2 separate regions of the Homo sapiens genome follow, and region 1 is linked to region 2. The links are contacts of gene promoters, found by promoter capture Hi-C in human tissues and cell types (Jung and others, 2019). All regions are on one chromosome and are shown on one strand. Each heading gives the region's core, a stretch centred on a gene start or on the middle of the fragment in contact. The rest is flanking DNA. Distances are from core to core; before and after follow the strand shown.

Region 1 (6,594 bases), core at 3,031-5,530, 230 kb before region 2:
ATGACCCTCTAGGCTTGTGGTGACCAAGGTCACCCAGGAGGTTTAAATTTAAGCTGAAATCACACTTGCAAGCTGTTTTGCTTTATTTTTTTCTCACTCTGAGAGATGTAGCCCTTTGAGGTCTCCACATATGCAAGGAGGGGATTTTTACCATTTTCCCTCCTTGTATCACACCTAGGCTTAGAATTTTTTTTTTCCTGCAATCACAAAACCGTTAAAAGAGTTTCAAATTTTCCTGATTTGAGAAGTGCCTTCAGAGAGAAGGTATAGTTTATATTCACTTTATCTCTAGGTTTCTGTTATTATTTGAATCATGTTTTTGTGATTTTTCACTCTTCTTTTTTTAAAAAAATTATTTTATTTTAAGTTCTGGGATACATGTGCAGGACGTGCAGGTTTGTTACATAGGTAAATGTGTGCCATGGTGATTTGCTGCAATGTGACTGCAGCAATGTGATTTGCTGCATGGTGATACCTACCCATCACCTAGGTATTCAGCCCCACATCCATTAGCTGTTTGTCCTGATGCTCTCCCTCCTCCTGCCCCCACCACAGGCCCCAGTGTGTGTTGTACCCCTCCCTGTGTCCATGTGTTCTCATTGTTCAGCTCTCACTTATGAGTGAGAACATGCAGTGTTTGGTTTTCTGTTCCTGTGTTAGTTTGCTGAGGATAATGGCTTCCAGCTCCATCCATGTCCCTGCAAAGGACCTGGTCTTGTTCCTTTTTATGGCTGCATAATACTCCATGGTGTATATGTACCACATTTCCTTTAACCAGTCTATCACTGATGGGCATTTGGGTTGATTACATGTCTTCGCTATTGTTTCACTGTCTTTTCATGTCATTTATTTATATGAAGAATTGAAGAAGCATCTACCTTTTTTTTTTTTCTTTTTTTGAGACAGAGTCTCATTCCATTGCCCAGGCTGGAGTGCAGTGGCTTGATCTCGGCTCACTGCAACCTCCACCTCCCGGATTCAAGTGATTCTCCTGCCTCAGCCTCCTGAGTAGCTGGGATTCCAGGCTCCTGCCACCATGCCTGGCTAATTTTTGTATTTTTAGTAGAGATGGGGTTTCACCATGTTGGCCAGGCTGGTCTCGAACTCCTGACCTGAAGTGATCCGCCCACCCCAGCCTCCCAAAGTGCTGGGGCTACAGGCGTGAGCCACCACACCCAGCTGCATCCAGCTTTTTAAAAATGCTGGAATTTTGATCCAAATAACTTAGTTTGCTATTAATGGAAGCAACAAGTGTAAAACAGAATGTTAAATTGTCATGATCCAGTGATTGCTCCACTCTGGGATGCGTTAGAACTGATAATTGCTATTAAATTTATAGATTTCCACACCACACAAGCCCACATCAAAATGTGAAGCAGAGTACCGCACATCAAGGCCGAGTGCAGTGGCTCATTCCTGTAATCCCAGCACTTTGGGAGGCCGAGGTGGGTGGATCACTTCAGATCAGGAGTTGGAGACCAGCCCGACCAACATAGCGAAACCCCATCTCTACTAAAAATGCAAAAATTTGCTGGGCATGGTGGCACGTGCCTGTAGTTCCAGCTACTTGGGAGGCTGAGGCAGTAGAATTGCTTGAACCTGGGAGGTGGAGATTACAGCGAGCTGAGACTATACCACTGCACTCCAGCCTGGGCAACAGAGCGAGACTCTATCTCAAAAAAAAAAAAATTAAAAAAAGAACTGCACATCACCCAGAAATCCTGGACTTTGAGCTGGCAGGAGGGAGCAGATGGAATTTGGATTTGATTTGGCCTCTTGATTGATCTCTGTTTTCAGAACAGACCCCACGGTCACGTTCCAGCTCCTCTCACTCTGCTAATGTCTTTCATTACTGCCACCATCTGACTTGCACTTATGCAACCCAACTCTTCCCCTTCTGGAGCCACCTTCCTCTTGCTCCCTTTCACTAAGATGTCCCAACGGGCCATGTTGCCCAACCCGGATAAAAGGTGGCCGCTCACTTCCCCTTTCAGAAGCCGACTCTTGTCCGTTTCTCTCCACCATACCCTGCCCTCTGACTTAGGCCTGCTCTTACCTTTGGGGGATGCGGCCTCGGTGTGTTCATTTGTAAATGGCAAGATTGATGGGCCTGTTCACAAGGGCAGTGGGATGGTGCACAGGACACACTAGTACAGAGCCTGGTGCAGAAGCTGCTCCCAGGTGGGAGCCACCATCCTGATGGACAGTTAGGGTCACCTCTGCTCCTCTGCAGGCTGCTGAGAAGGGAAGGTTCCTATGTATAGACCCTTTTCCATGAGAGGAACTGAAGCCCGGGTGGACCAGCCAGAACATGAAAGGATTTGGGGACCAGCCCTAGCGCATATCCTGAGGCCACACTGCTGCCCACAAACTGCCCTTGTGGAGCCCACTCCATATGACTCTCCATGGGCTGGAACCACTCTCAGGAAAAGAATACATTTCCTCTCAAGCCAAAACAGACCTCTCTGTTGGCAGACAGTGTGTCTTCTCCCTCTGCCCTGGAATGCACCCTTGGGGCTTGGAGATGTCCCTGATACAGAAGGAACAGGAGGAAGCAGAGCTTCCCTTTATCCATGCAGAATCTAGACACTGTTTACTGCTGAGGCTGCACCACAGCCAGAGGCTGCAGGCAGACCTGCGATCTTAGGGTTCTCCTTAGAATCAGAATCAATAGAATATATCTCTATCTATGTTTGTATCTATCCATCTATCTGGAAAGGGAGGTAGAGTGAATAGGGAATTTATTACAGGAATCGTCTCTTGTGATTAGGGAGGCTGAGAAGTTCTACAAGATGCTCTCTGTAAGCTGGAGAACTAGGGATGCCTGGTGGGGTAGCTGCATCTGAGTCCAAAGGCCTGAGAACCTGGAGTTCTCATGTCCAAGGGCAGGAGAAGATGGATGTCCCAGCTCCAGAACAGAGAGCAAATTCACCCTCTGCCTTTAGATCTATCCATGGAGTTGCAGCAAACTCCTTCAAAGAGTGACTTATCTTTGCAGAGTCAAAGGTTGTTTTTTTTTTTTTTTTTTTTTTGAGACGGAGTCTTGCTCTGTCAACCAGGCTGGAGTGCAGCGGCGCGATCTCGGCTCACTGCAAGCTCCGCCTCCTGGGTTCACGCCATTCTCCTGCCTCAGCCTTCCGAGCAGCCGGGACTACAGGCGCCCGCCACCACGCCCGGCTAATTTTTTGTATTTTTTCGTAGAGATGGGGTTTCACCGTGTTAACCAGGATAGTCTCGATCTCCTAACCTCGTGATCTAGCAGCCTCGGCCTCCCAAAGTGCTGGGATTACAGGCGTGAGCCACCGCGGCCGGCCAGTCAAAGGTTTCTTTTCCCACTCCACCTAGGCTTTCAGCTTCCTCTAAGGGGAGTGATGGTTTATGAAAGAGAGAGTGAGTGGGGAGGCAGAGGGCCAGTGGGCCTCTAGGATTCTGCTACACCTGTGTATGTAATTCTAGAAACATTCTCAGGGCTGTGCGCAGTGGCTCACACCTGTAATCCAAGGACTTTGGGAGGCCAAGGCGGGTGGATCACGAGGTCAGGAGTTCGAGACCAGCTCATCCAACATGGTGAAACCCCGTCTCTACTAAAAAATACAAAAATTAGCCAGGCGTGGTGGTGCACGCCTGTAGTCCCAGCTACTCGGGAGGCTGAAGCAGGAGAATCGCTTGAACCTGGGTGGCGGAGGTTGCAGTGAGCCGAGATCCTGTTACTGCACTCCAGGCTGGCAACAGAGTGAAACTCCACCTAAAAAAAATAAAAATAAAAATAAATAACAACAACGACAACAACAACAACAGCAACAACAAAACGTACTCAGGCCTGCTCAGGCCTGGTCTTGTCATCGGTTGCTGTGGGGCCTCCTTCCTCTCTTGAATGTGAAGGAGGCACCACTGGACAGTTTGGGGAGAACAGACTCCCAGGTGTCTGGATTATTAGTTTGTCTCTGTGTTTGTTTGTGTGTGTGTGACAGAGAGAGAGAGAGAGAGAGGATGTGTGTGGGTGTGCGATTGTAGGTGTGTGTGTGACTGTATCTGTGGGACTGCATTCACAGCGTGTGCAAGTGTGTTTGTGAGTGTATGTAATTGTGTGCATGGGTGGCTGTGATCACATGTGCATATGTCTGTATTACACCGTGTTGGCGACTGAGTGTCTGAGTGTGGTATGCATGTGTGAGTGTGTGTATGTTGTTGTCACTGAGCCACTGTAGCTGTCTACACCAGGCTGTGTTCCTATTCATGACTGGAGCCACTATCACAGCCACTGTCCTTGACCCCAGGCCTGACCCTTGCAGTGCAGGCAGCACATTCTCATGCCCTTGACCCCACATCTGACCCTTGCAATACAGGCAACACATTCTCATGCCCTTGACCTTACATCTGGCCCTTGCAGTGCAGGCAGCACATTTTCATGCCCTTGATCCCATGTCTGACCCTTGCAGTGCAGGCAGCACATTCTCATGTCCTTGGAAGCAGCCCTCAACAATGGGTGGTGAGTATTGGTGGGTAAATGCCCCAGCTCCTTTTCCCTGAGTGGGATGACTCTGAGGTGCATGTTCTATGCTGTCTCCCAGAGGTGCCATGGAGGGCTGAGCCTTGGCTGCCCATGGTGGAAACTATTTTAAATAAGTTCCTTTTAATTGCTACATTTCCTTTCCTGTCTCAGTTTTCAGCTGTCCTACTGGTGTTTCCTGGACTTACCTCCCAAACAAACAACTGGCAGTTGAAATTTGGTCACCTCTAAATAAATTATTTGCACTTGAATCCTTGCATCAGGGTCTACTTCCAGGAAACCCAAACTAAGACAAGCATGTCTGCTGGCTTCTCCCATCTCAATAGGCTTATCACTGTGTCCTTTGTACTGAAGAGGAACATGAGATTCAGAGAAGACAAGTCACTTGCCCAAAGTCACACAGCTGATTAGTGGCAGGTCCAGGTTTGACCATGGGCCACCTAATCCCAAGCTTGGTGCTTGCTCCTCTCCTGAGAGACTCCACCCTACTAAAGGCCAGCGGAAACAACATAGGAAGTTCGAAGCCATCAAGGGCTTTGCTGCATGTGCCAGAGGGAACCAAGGCTCATAGCTGGTGTCTGTGTCCTTGTCCTGTCATTAGAGTAATAATGGCATGCACATGCTTGTGGCTGATTATGTGCCAGGGAATGTTGTTGTAAGCACTTTACTCTTTTAAACTCCCTTAATTTTCACAACAACCTTGCTATGACTCCTGGTTTTCAGGCAAGAAAACTGAGGCACAGAGAAATAAAGAGACTGGCCCAAATTCACACAGCTGGTTGAGAGTTGAACGAAGCAGCCTGCACCTGGAGTCCCTGTTCTTCACCACGACACTCTCTGGCTTCTCACAAGTCATATAGATGGAGTTCTACTAAATGTCAGGCACGATGCTAAGCAATTTCTTTTTTGTTTTTGTTTTTGAGACAGTGTCTCGCTCTGTCACCTAGGCTGGAGTGCAGTGGTGCAATCTTGGCTTACTGCATCCTCCGCTTCCTGTGTTCAAGTGATTCTCCTGCCTCTGCCTCCCAAGTAGTGGTGATTACGGGCATGCTCCACCACCCCTGGTGAAGTTTTGTATTTTTAGTAGAGATGGGGTTTCACCATGTTGGCCAGGCTGGTCTCGAACTCCTGACCTCAGGTCATCCATCTGCCTCGGCCTCCCAAAGTGCTGGGATTACAGGCGTGAGCCACCGTACCCGACCAGCAATTTCTTTTAAAATATAATTTGTAATTATATATATTAGTAATTATAATTAAACATGCTGTACAACCTCATATAATAAAAGGAAACAATTGCTAAGTGTAAGCATTGAGAACAAGAATTCTCCCTTCAACCCCCTGCTCCCATTCCGACAGCTGGGAGAATGCTTATGATGTGCTTATGTAAACTTCAGCACCCACATAACTGGTGTGTTGAGAGGTCCCATCTTTTTGGGGAACGTAACACTCGGGTCCTGGCAGGGAACCCACAGGGGCTAAAGGAGGGGGTTTAAGGAGGAGCCGTTTGCAAAGGTGTGGGCAGGGCCAAGGGGAACCATGAGGGATGGTGCAGCACCCTGGAGGTTACCATCCACCGAGAGCTGTCACCACTCCCAGGCTGGTGGTGCCAGGAAACAGCTGCTCCTGGAACCAAGATCTGTGGCTGAAAGAGGAGGGCAGAGGACAGACCTCATTCTGCTCTCCCCACTGATCATCAGTGGATCTCCCATTGACCAAACTGCCATCTGCTTATATGACTGGAGAGGCTGCAGGCAGGTGTCCAAAGCCTCCTGTTGTGGTTCATTCCTGACAACGGGTCAGTGCTGGTCCCCCCGATCCCACAGACTGAGATCCACTCAGCTTCTCTGCCTTGGGTGGCCCCCTTGTTCACTGACTAGGCAGGCACTTGAATGAGGAACAATATTCTGTCTCTCCCTGTACTCTCCTCTTTTCCCTGTCACAGGGAGGGTCTCTGTTGTTCATGTCCTGAGTCCCTCCATCTAGGGCTGGTGGCTGGTGTTACAGGACCACCAGGTTCATATCCCTGCTGTGCAATAACAGAAAATACACTGAGACAGAAGTGTTTGCAGCAGAGAAAAAGTTTA
Region 2 (7,325 bases), core at 2,784-5,283:
TTCACCTGGCAAACCCCTGTTTGTTGTTAAGATTCAGCTTAGATGTCACCTCTTCCATGCAGTCCTCCTGGATATTTCTTCCCAAGGCATATTAAGCCACCCATTCCTGGGTGCTTTCAAAATAATGATTCCCAGTTAATGGTAACAGCAGGCATTGGTTCAATTCTCGCTCTGTGCCTCCTACAAGTAACTTTAAAGCTCCTTGCTCATGACTTTGTTATGATGTTTGCCGTGATATGTCATGTTGGAGCTGTGTCTATCCCTGGAACCTGATTGTGAATCCCTGAAGCCAAGGACTGTTGTGTCTACAGCACCAGTGCTGTGTACTCAACAACAACACCGATGAGAGCAGCTGCCCTTTACTGGATATGTCCTACAGACCAGGCACTGCACTCACATCACTCATGCTATTCTTATTGAATATTTACCCCCACATTAGAAGTCATCTGCTCTGATCCCTATTTTACAGACAGGGAAACTGAAACCCACGACACATCACTTGCCTTAGGTGCCTTGAGTCTGAAGTGGGGGCCCAGGGTCTGAGCTTAGGTCTGATTGATCTCAAAGCCTGTCTTTTCCTAACCTCTTGTTATACTCACCAGTTGCTGGTGGCTGTTTCAAAGGCCACTAGGAGATGCTGCTTCCCCATGACTGACCGTCTACACACTCTTGTTCATATCAATTCAGATCACAAGAATCGACAGCGAGTGAGTGAACAAGGTGGGGGGAGAGAGAGAGAGAGAAAAGGAGGAGGAGGAGGAGGAGGAAAAGAAAGAAAAAAGGGAGGAAGAAAGAGAGGGAGGGAGGGAGGAAGGAAAGAAGGATAAAAGGAAGGAAGGATGGGGACTGCAGGAGGAAGGAAGGAGGGAGGGAGGGAAGGAGGAAGGAAGGAACGAAGGAAGGAAGGAAGGAGAGTGAGGGAGGAAAGGAGGAGAGTGAGGAAGGAAGAAAGGAGGGAGGGAGGCAGGAAGGAAGGAGAGTGAGGGAGGAAAGAAGGAGAGTGAGGAAGGAAGGAAGAAAGGGAGGGAGGGAGGCAGGAAGGAAGGAAGGAGAGTGAGGGAGGAAAGAAGGAGAGTGAGATAGGAAGAAACGAGGGAGGGAGGAATGGAGGGAGGAAGGAAGGGAGGGAGGGAGAAACCTTGAGAGGACAGGAGCCGATCACGTCTGTAGGAGGTAGCTGAGGGCTGCATGTAACACCGTCTGGAATGATGGGATGCAGAATGCAGCTAAAAGGGTAGTCCAGTCATTCTGGAAAAATCAAAACCATGGAGACAGCAAAAGATCAGTGGCTTCCAGGGGACCAGTGGGTGAGAGGGAGGGATGAATGGGTGGGGCACAGAGGGTTTTTAAGACAGTGTAACTATGTTGTGTGATACTGTCATGGTAGATACAGGACATTGTGCATTTGTCAAAACCCAGAGAATGTACAGCCCCAAGAGTGAACTCTAATGTAACTGTGGATTTCAGTCAATGACAATGTGTCAACACTGGTTCATCAGTTGTAACAGATTAATGGTAAAAAAAAAAAAAAATCCCAGTTGCTAATTATAGGGGAAATTGTGTGCAGGCGGAGAGAGGGTATATGGAGATTCTCTGCAGTATCTATCTGCTCTATGTTCTGTAAATCTGAAACTGCTCTTAAAATAAAGTCTATTAATTTTAAAAAGTAAAACAAAACCAAACCCATGGTGGATGTGGGACTAGGATAGCAGCGAGGAGGATTTAGAGCTTCTGGGCATTGATTCACCAGCAGAACATCCAGTGGGTTCCTCTGTAGGTAAAACAGAGAGAGAGAAAGGTAGGAAGAGAAAGAGAGAGATGGGGATAGAGAGAGAGGCAGGGGAAGAGAGAGAGAGAGAGAGAGAGAGAGGAGGCGAGGGAGAAACAGAGAGAGAGAGGTGGGGAGAGAAAGAAAGAGAGGTGGGGAGAGAGAAAGAGAGAGACAGAGAGGTGGAGACACAGAGAGATGTGGGGAAAGAGCACACACAGAGAGAGAGAGAGATGGAGGGAGAGAGAGAAGTGGGGAGATAGAGAGTGGGAGGTGGGGGGAGAGAGAGAGAGAAGGACAGGGAGAAAGACACAGAGAGAGGTGGGGAGAGAGAAGTGGGGAGAGAGACACAGAGAGTGTGGGAGGTGGGGAGAGAGAGGGTTGGGGAAAGAGAGAGAGAGACAGAGAGAAGGGTGGGGAGAGAGAGAGAAGTGGAGAGAGAGGGAGGTGGGAAGAGAAACAGAGAGAGGAAAGAGAGGTAGGGAGAAAGAGAGGACAGAGGGGAAAGAGAAGAAAAAGGTGAGAAGAAAGAGAGAGAGCAAGCAAGCCCACTGTCTAGCACTGACAGGAACACCCGGTGGGGCCAGTTCTCCACTCAGAGACTCTAGGGCTAAGCGTGGCTGTGGACAAGTCCTGCCACAGACATCCCTAGAGCAGGGTTTCCTGCCTTCAGCATTAGGGACGCTAGGGGCGAATCATTCTCTCTCAGAGGGGTGTCCTGTGCACTGCAGGAGACTGAGCAGCATTCTTGGTCTCCACCCACCAGATAGATACCAGCAGCACTCCCCAGTCACGACAATCAGAAATGTCCTTATACGTTGTCACGTGTCTCCTGGGTGACAGCATCACTCCATGGGCCAGGCCTGTCTTGTCTCTGAGACCCCATCTGGCCTTAACTCTCACCCATCCTGGCTCTCTCTTCTTAGTGAAGCTGTCTGGCCTCCCCTCTCTTCCACTTAAGCCACCACTTCCCTCTCTTTTCTCTCCATCTTCTCATCCCCAGCTCCTAACCATTCCCTCACCACCTGCTCCCATTGACGCCTCCCTTGTGTGTGTGTGTGTGTGTGTGTGTGTGTGTGTGTGAGAGAGAGAGAGAGAGAGAGAGAGAGAGAGAGAGAGAGAGAGAGAGAGAGAGACAGGGTATCCCTCTGTCACCCAGGCTGGAGTGCAGAGGCACAATCACAGCTCACTGCAGCCTTAACTTCCTGGGCTCAAGCAATCCTCCCACCTCAATCTCTGGAGTAGCTACAGGTGCCTGCCATTCCTGGCCAATTTTTGTATTTTTTTGTACAGACAGGGTCTCACTATGCTGCCCAGGCTGGCCTCAAACTCTTGGACTCAAGTGATCCTCCCACCTTGGCCTCCCAAAGTGCTGGGATTGCAGGCATGAGCCACTGCACCCGGCCCACCCTGATTCTTTACACCCTGGGGTGGTGGCTGGAGCTTCTGAACCCTGAATCCTCTTTCTCTCTTTTCTCCGCCTCTTCCCAATCCTTTTTCCGTAGACTTCTTGCCTGGACAGACCGAGAAGAGAGGTTAAAATCAAACCATCACCTTGGGTCACATTGAGCATTGGCTGTCTTCTCTCTGCACCTGTTACCTCCCCCATCCAAGGGACCTACCTCATGAGGCAGCAGGAGCTCTAAAGAAGGCAAGTCCTGGCTGGGCACGATGGCTCATGCCTGTAATCCCAGTACTTTGGGAAGCCGAGGCGGGTGGATCACGAGATCAGGAGTTCAAGACCAGCCTGTCCAGCATGGTGAAACCCCTGTCTCTACTAAAAATACAAAAAATTAGCCAGGCATGGTGGCACGCACCTGTAGTCCCAGCTACTCAGGAGGCTGAGGGAGAAGAATCGCTTGAACCTGGCAGGCGGAGGTTGCAGTGAGCCGAGATTGCGCCACTGCACTCCAGCCTGGGCTACAGAGCGAGATTCCGTCTCAAAAAAAAAAAAAAAAAAATAGAAGAAGGTAAGTCCTGCTAAGCAAACAGCACACTGACTAAGACGTGGTGAGTGGCCTCTGCCTGTCACCCACTGCCCTGTAGACTCACATTGCTAAAGGAGTAATATAAACAGGTGGTTTCTTGGAGTCCCTGGCAGGTGCTGGTTCCCCAGGTCTCTCCTGGTCAGGTGGCTGAGAGGGGAGGTGACTCACCTGGGACTCCAGGCATCTGCTTCTGCTTCATCCCAGTAGGAGGCTCTAGTTTGGAGTTTCTCCACAGGTGGGAGCTGACCAGGTGTGGGCTGCACCAAGCAGCCACACCAGCTGAGCCGGGGGCTTGACTGAGCCCAAATGCGATTATTTATCCCTCCCTGACTCCCTGCCCACCGGCTTCCCTCGCTGTGGTCCTACTGTCTCTGTCTCCGCTACAGGGATGCTGGGACCCCAGGGACCCTGCCAGAGAGGAGGCAACCTCAGGGAATCTGTATCCTCACTTTCCCATTCCCCCCGCCTGCCAGGGGTGAGTCAATTCCCTGAGCTTGTCAAGAGCTTGAGCAGAGTCTAGTGCTCTACAGATTTGGGGTTTGGGCCCATGACTGTTGAAATTGACAGGAGGGCAGCCCTGCCATTGCCCCCAGGGACTGCAGAGGCTGCCTTGATATGCCCCGTCACCTTCATTCTTCTCCAACTGGGTCATTTGCCCAACTAAATGTCCTTTAAAATAATTTTTTAAAACCAACACACACACACGTATTTGTTTTTATTTTTATTTTTTGAGACAGGGTCTAGCTCTGTTGCCCAGGCTGGAGTGCAGTGGTGTGATTATGGCTCACTGCAGCCTCAACCTCCCAGGCTCAAATGATTCTCCTGCCTCAGCCTCCTGAGCAGCTGGGAGTAAAGGTGCTTGCCACCACACCTGGGCTAAGTTTTAATTTTTCTGTAGAGATGGGGTCTCGCTTTGTTGCCCAGGCTGGTCTTGAGCTCCTTGGCTCAAGGGATCCTCCCACCTTGACCTCTCAAAGTGCTGGGATTACAGCTGTGAGCCACCATGCCTGGCCTGTTTCTTCTTATTATGTAATTGAAATGCTACATACAAAGCAGCAAACCATGCAATGGCCAGCCAGGCAATCGTGACGGTGAATTTAATGGGTATCCCTTCAGATCTTCATGAGCATGTAGGATGTGAAAACAATGCAAACCCATAAAATCAGAGTTCTGTTGTGCATTATTGTTGCTTTCGCTTCGTTCTGCTTTTGAGGTGAAATTCACATAAAATAATCAACCACTTTAAAGTATACAATTCCCTGGGATTGAATGCATTCACAATGTTGTGTGGCCGCCGCCTCTGTCTAGTTCCAAAATGTTTTCATCACCTAATACCCATTAGCAGCCACTCCCCTACCCCACCCAGTCCTTCAAAACCACCAATTTGTTTTCTGGCTCTGGCTCTATGGACTTACCTATTCTAGACATTTCATATAAATGGGACTATATACTACTATATATAACGATGCATTATGATTGCCCCTGTGAGTAGCCACGGCACTCCAGCCATTTTGTCAACACAAAAATGTCGACATTGCCAAGACTGAGAAACTTTGGTCTGCATAAACTCACACAGAGTTCACTCTAAGACGCTGAGTGAAAAACCAAGTTACGGAAAGATATCTACGGGAGAATCAGATCTGCATTTTAAAAACACACAAAATGGTTTGACAGTTTATCAAAAAGTTAACATAGAAATTATCAAAGGACTCAGCAATTTCACTCCTAGGTATACACCCAAAAGAATGGAAAAGGATTCAAACAAATCCTTGGACATCAAATGTGCATAGCAGCACTGTTCACAGTAGCCAAACGGTATTTTTTAATTTTTCTGTAGAGAGTAGGATTTCACTTTGTTTCTCAGGCTGCTCTTGGAACTCCTGGGCTTAAGCGATTCTCCTGCCTTGACCTCCCAAAGTGCTTGGATTGCAGGTGTGAGCCACTGGACATGGCCTGATCCAAACGTCTATCAATGGCAGATCCAAATGTCTATTAATAAATAAATGGATAAACAAAGTGTGGTATAATCATATAATGGCTATTATTCAGCCACAGAAAGGAATAACATCCCAGTCCAGGCCACAGTAGAGATGAACGTTGAAAACATGTGCTATGTGAAAGGAGCTAGGCTTTTAATTTTATGGATAATTCCATACAAATGATATCTCTTTGATACACTGATTTCTTTTCTTTGGAGTATATACTTAAGTAGTGGCATTTCTGGATCATATGATAGCTCTATGTTTAGTTTTCTGAGAAACCGCCATACTATTATCCATAGTGGTTGTATTAATTTACTTTCCCACCAAAAAATCATGAGGGTTCCCTTTTCTCAGCATCCTCCCAGGCATTCCTTATTGCCTGTCTTCTGGATAAATGCCATCTTAACTGGGTTGAGACATTATCTTGTAGTGTTGATTTGCATTTCTCTCATGATCAGTGAGGTTGAGCATCTTTTAATATGCCTGTTTGCCATGTGTATGTCTTCTTTTCAGAAATGTTTATTCAGATCTTTGGCCCATTTTAAAATCAGATCATTAATTTTTTTCCTATTGAGTTGTTTGAGCCCCTTATGTATCCTGGTTATTAATCCCCTATCAGATGGATAGTTTGCAAGTATTTTCTCCCATTCTGTGATTGTCTCTTCACTTTGTTTATTTTTTATTTACTTTTATTTTTTTTTATTTTTTATTTTTGAGATGGAGTCTCGCTCTGTCGACCAGGCTGGAGCACAGTGGCTCAATCTTGGCTCAATGCAACCTCCACCTCCCGGGTTCCAGCAATTCTCCTGCCTCAGCCTCCTGAGTAGCTGGGATTATGGGCACACGCCACCATGCCCAGCTAGTTTTCTGTATTTTTAGTAGAAATGGAGTTTCACCATGTTGGCCAGGCTGGTCTCGAACCCCTGACCTCAGGTGATCAGCCCACCTCGGCCTTCCAGAGTGCTGGGATTACAGGCGTGAGCCACCACGCCCAGCCCACTTTGTTTATTGTTTCCTTTGCTGTGCAGGTTGTAACGTGATGTGATCCCAGTTACCCATTTTTGCTCTCGTTGTCTATGCCCGTAGTCAAGAAATTTTTGCCCAGACCAATGTCCTGGAGAGTTTCCCTAATGTTTTATTTTAGTAGTTTCATAGTTTGGGGTCTTAGATTTAAGTCTTTAATCCATTTTGACTTTATTTTTTTATGTGGTGAGAGATAGGGGTCTAGTTTCATTCTTCTGTACATGGATATCTGGTTTTCCCAGGACCATTTACTGAAGACAGTGTCATTTCCCCAGTGTATGTTCTTGGCATCTTTGTCTTGGAGGAATTTAGATACACTGGAGGGACCCGCAGAAATAAGATATGGCAGCACGTATACAAATTAAAGCCTTAAAATTTTTGGAGAGATTTTTCAAAATTTGGAATGATATAAATATAATGAAGAACTTTGAACTTAGCCATTTCTAACTTATCTGTTCCAGGAGCACATAAACAGACTAATCGGGATTATAAAACATGCTCACACTAAGTAACTAATATGCAGACATTTATGGAGCGACAACTGTGTGCCTGGCACCAAGGTAC

Evidence for each region. The method cuts DNA at HindIII sites, captures the fragments that hold promoters and counts their contacts. A contact is called where the count stands out against the background at its distance.
Region 1: a contact is called between a fragment that was not itself captured here and the fragment with the promoter of OR10H1 in region 2, in 1 of the 25 tissues and cell types used here (small bowel).

What each region holds. Positions count from the first base shown.
Region 1 is chr19:15,585,925-15,592,518 of GRCh38, forward strand. No RefSeq gene overlaps it. Among named protein-coding and RNA genes, the nearest start is that of CYP4F8, 26 kb to the right of the region's middle. The HindIII fragment of the contact is 7,557 bases long and covers 503-6,594 here.
Region 2 is chr19:15,811,631-15,818,955 of GRCh38, forward strand. OR10H1 (olfactory receptor family 10 subfamily H member 1) reads right to left here and starts at 4,034. Exons shown (of 4, transcript NM_013940.4): 1 at 3,925-4,034; 2 at 600-1,248. The HindIII fragment of the contact is 22,557 bases long and covers 1-7,325 here.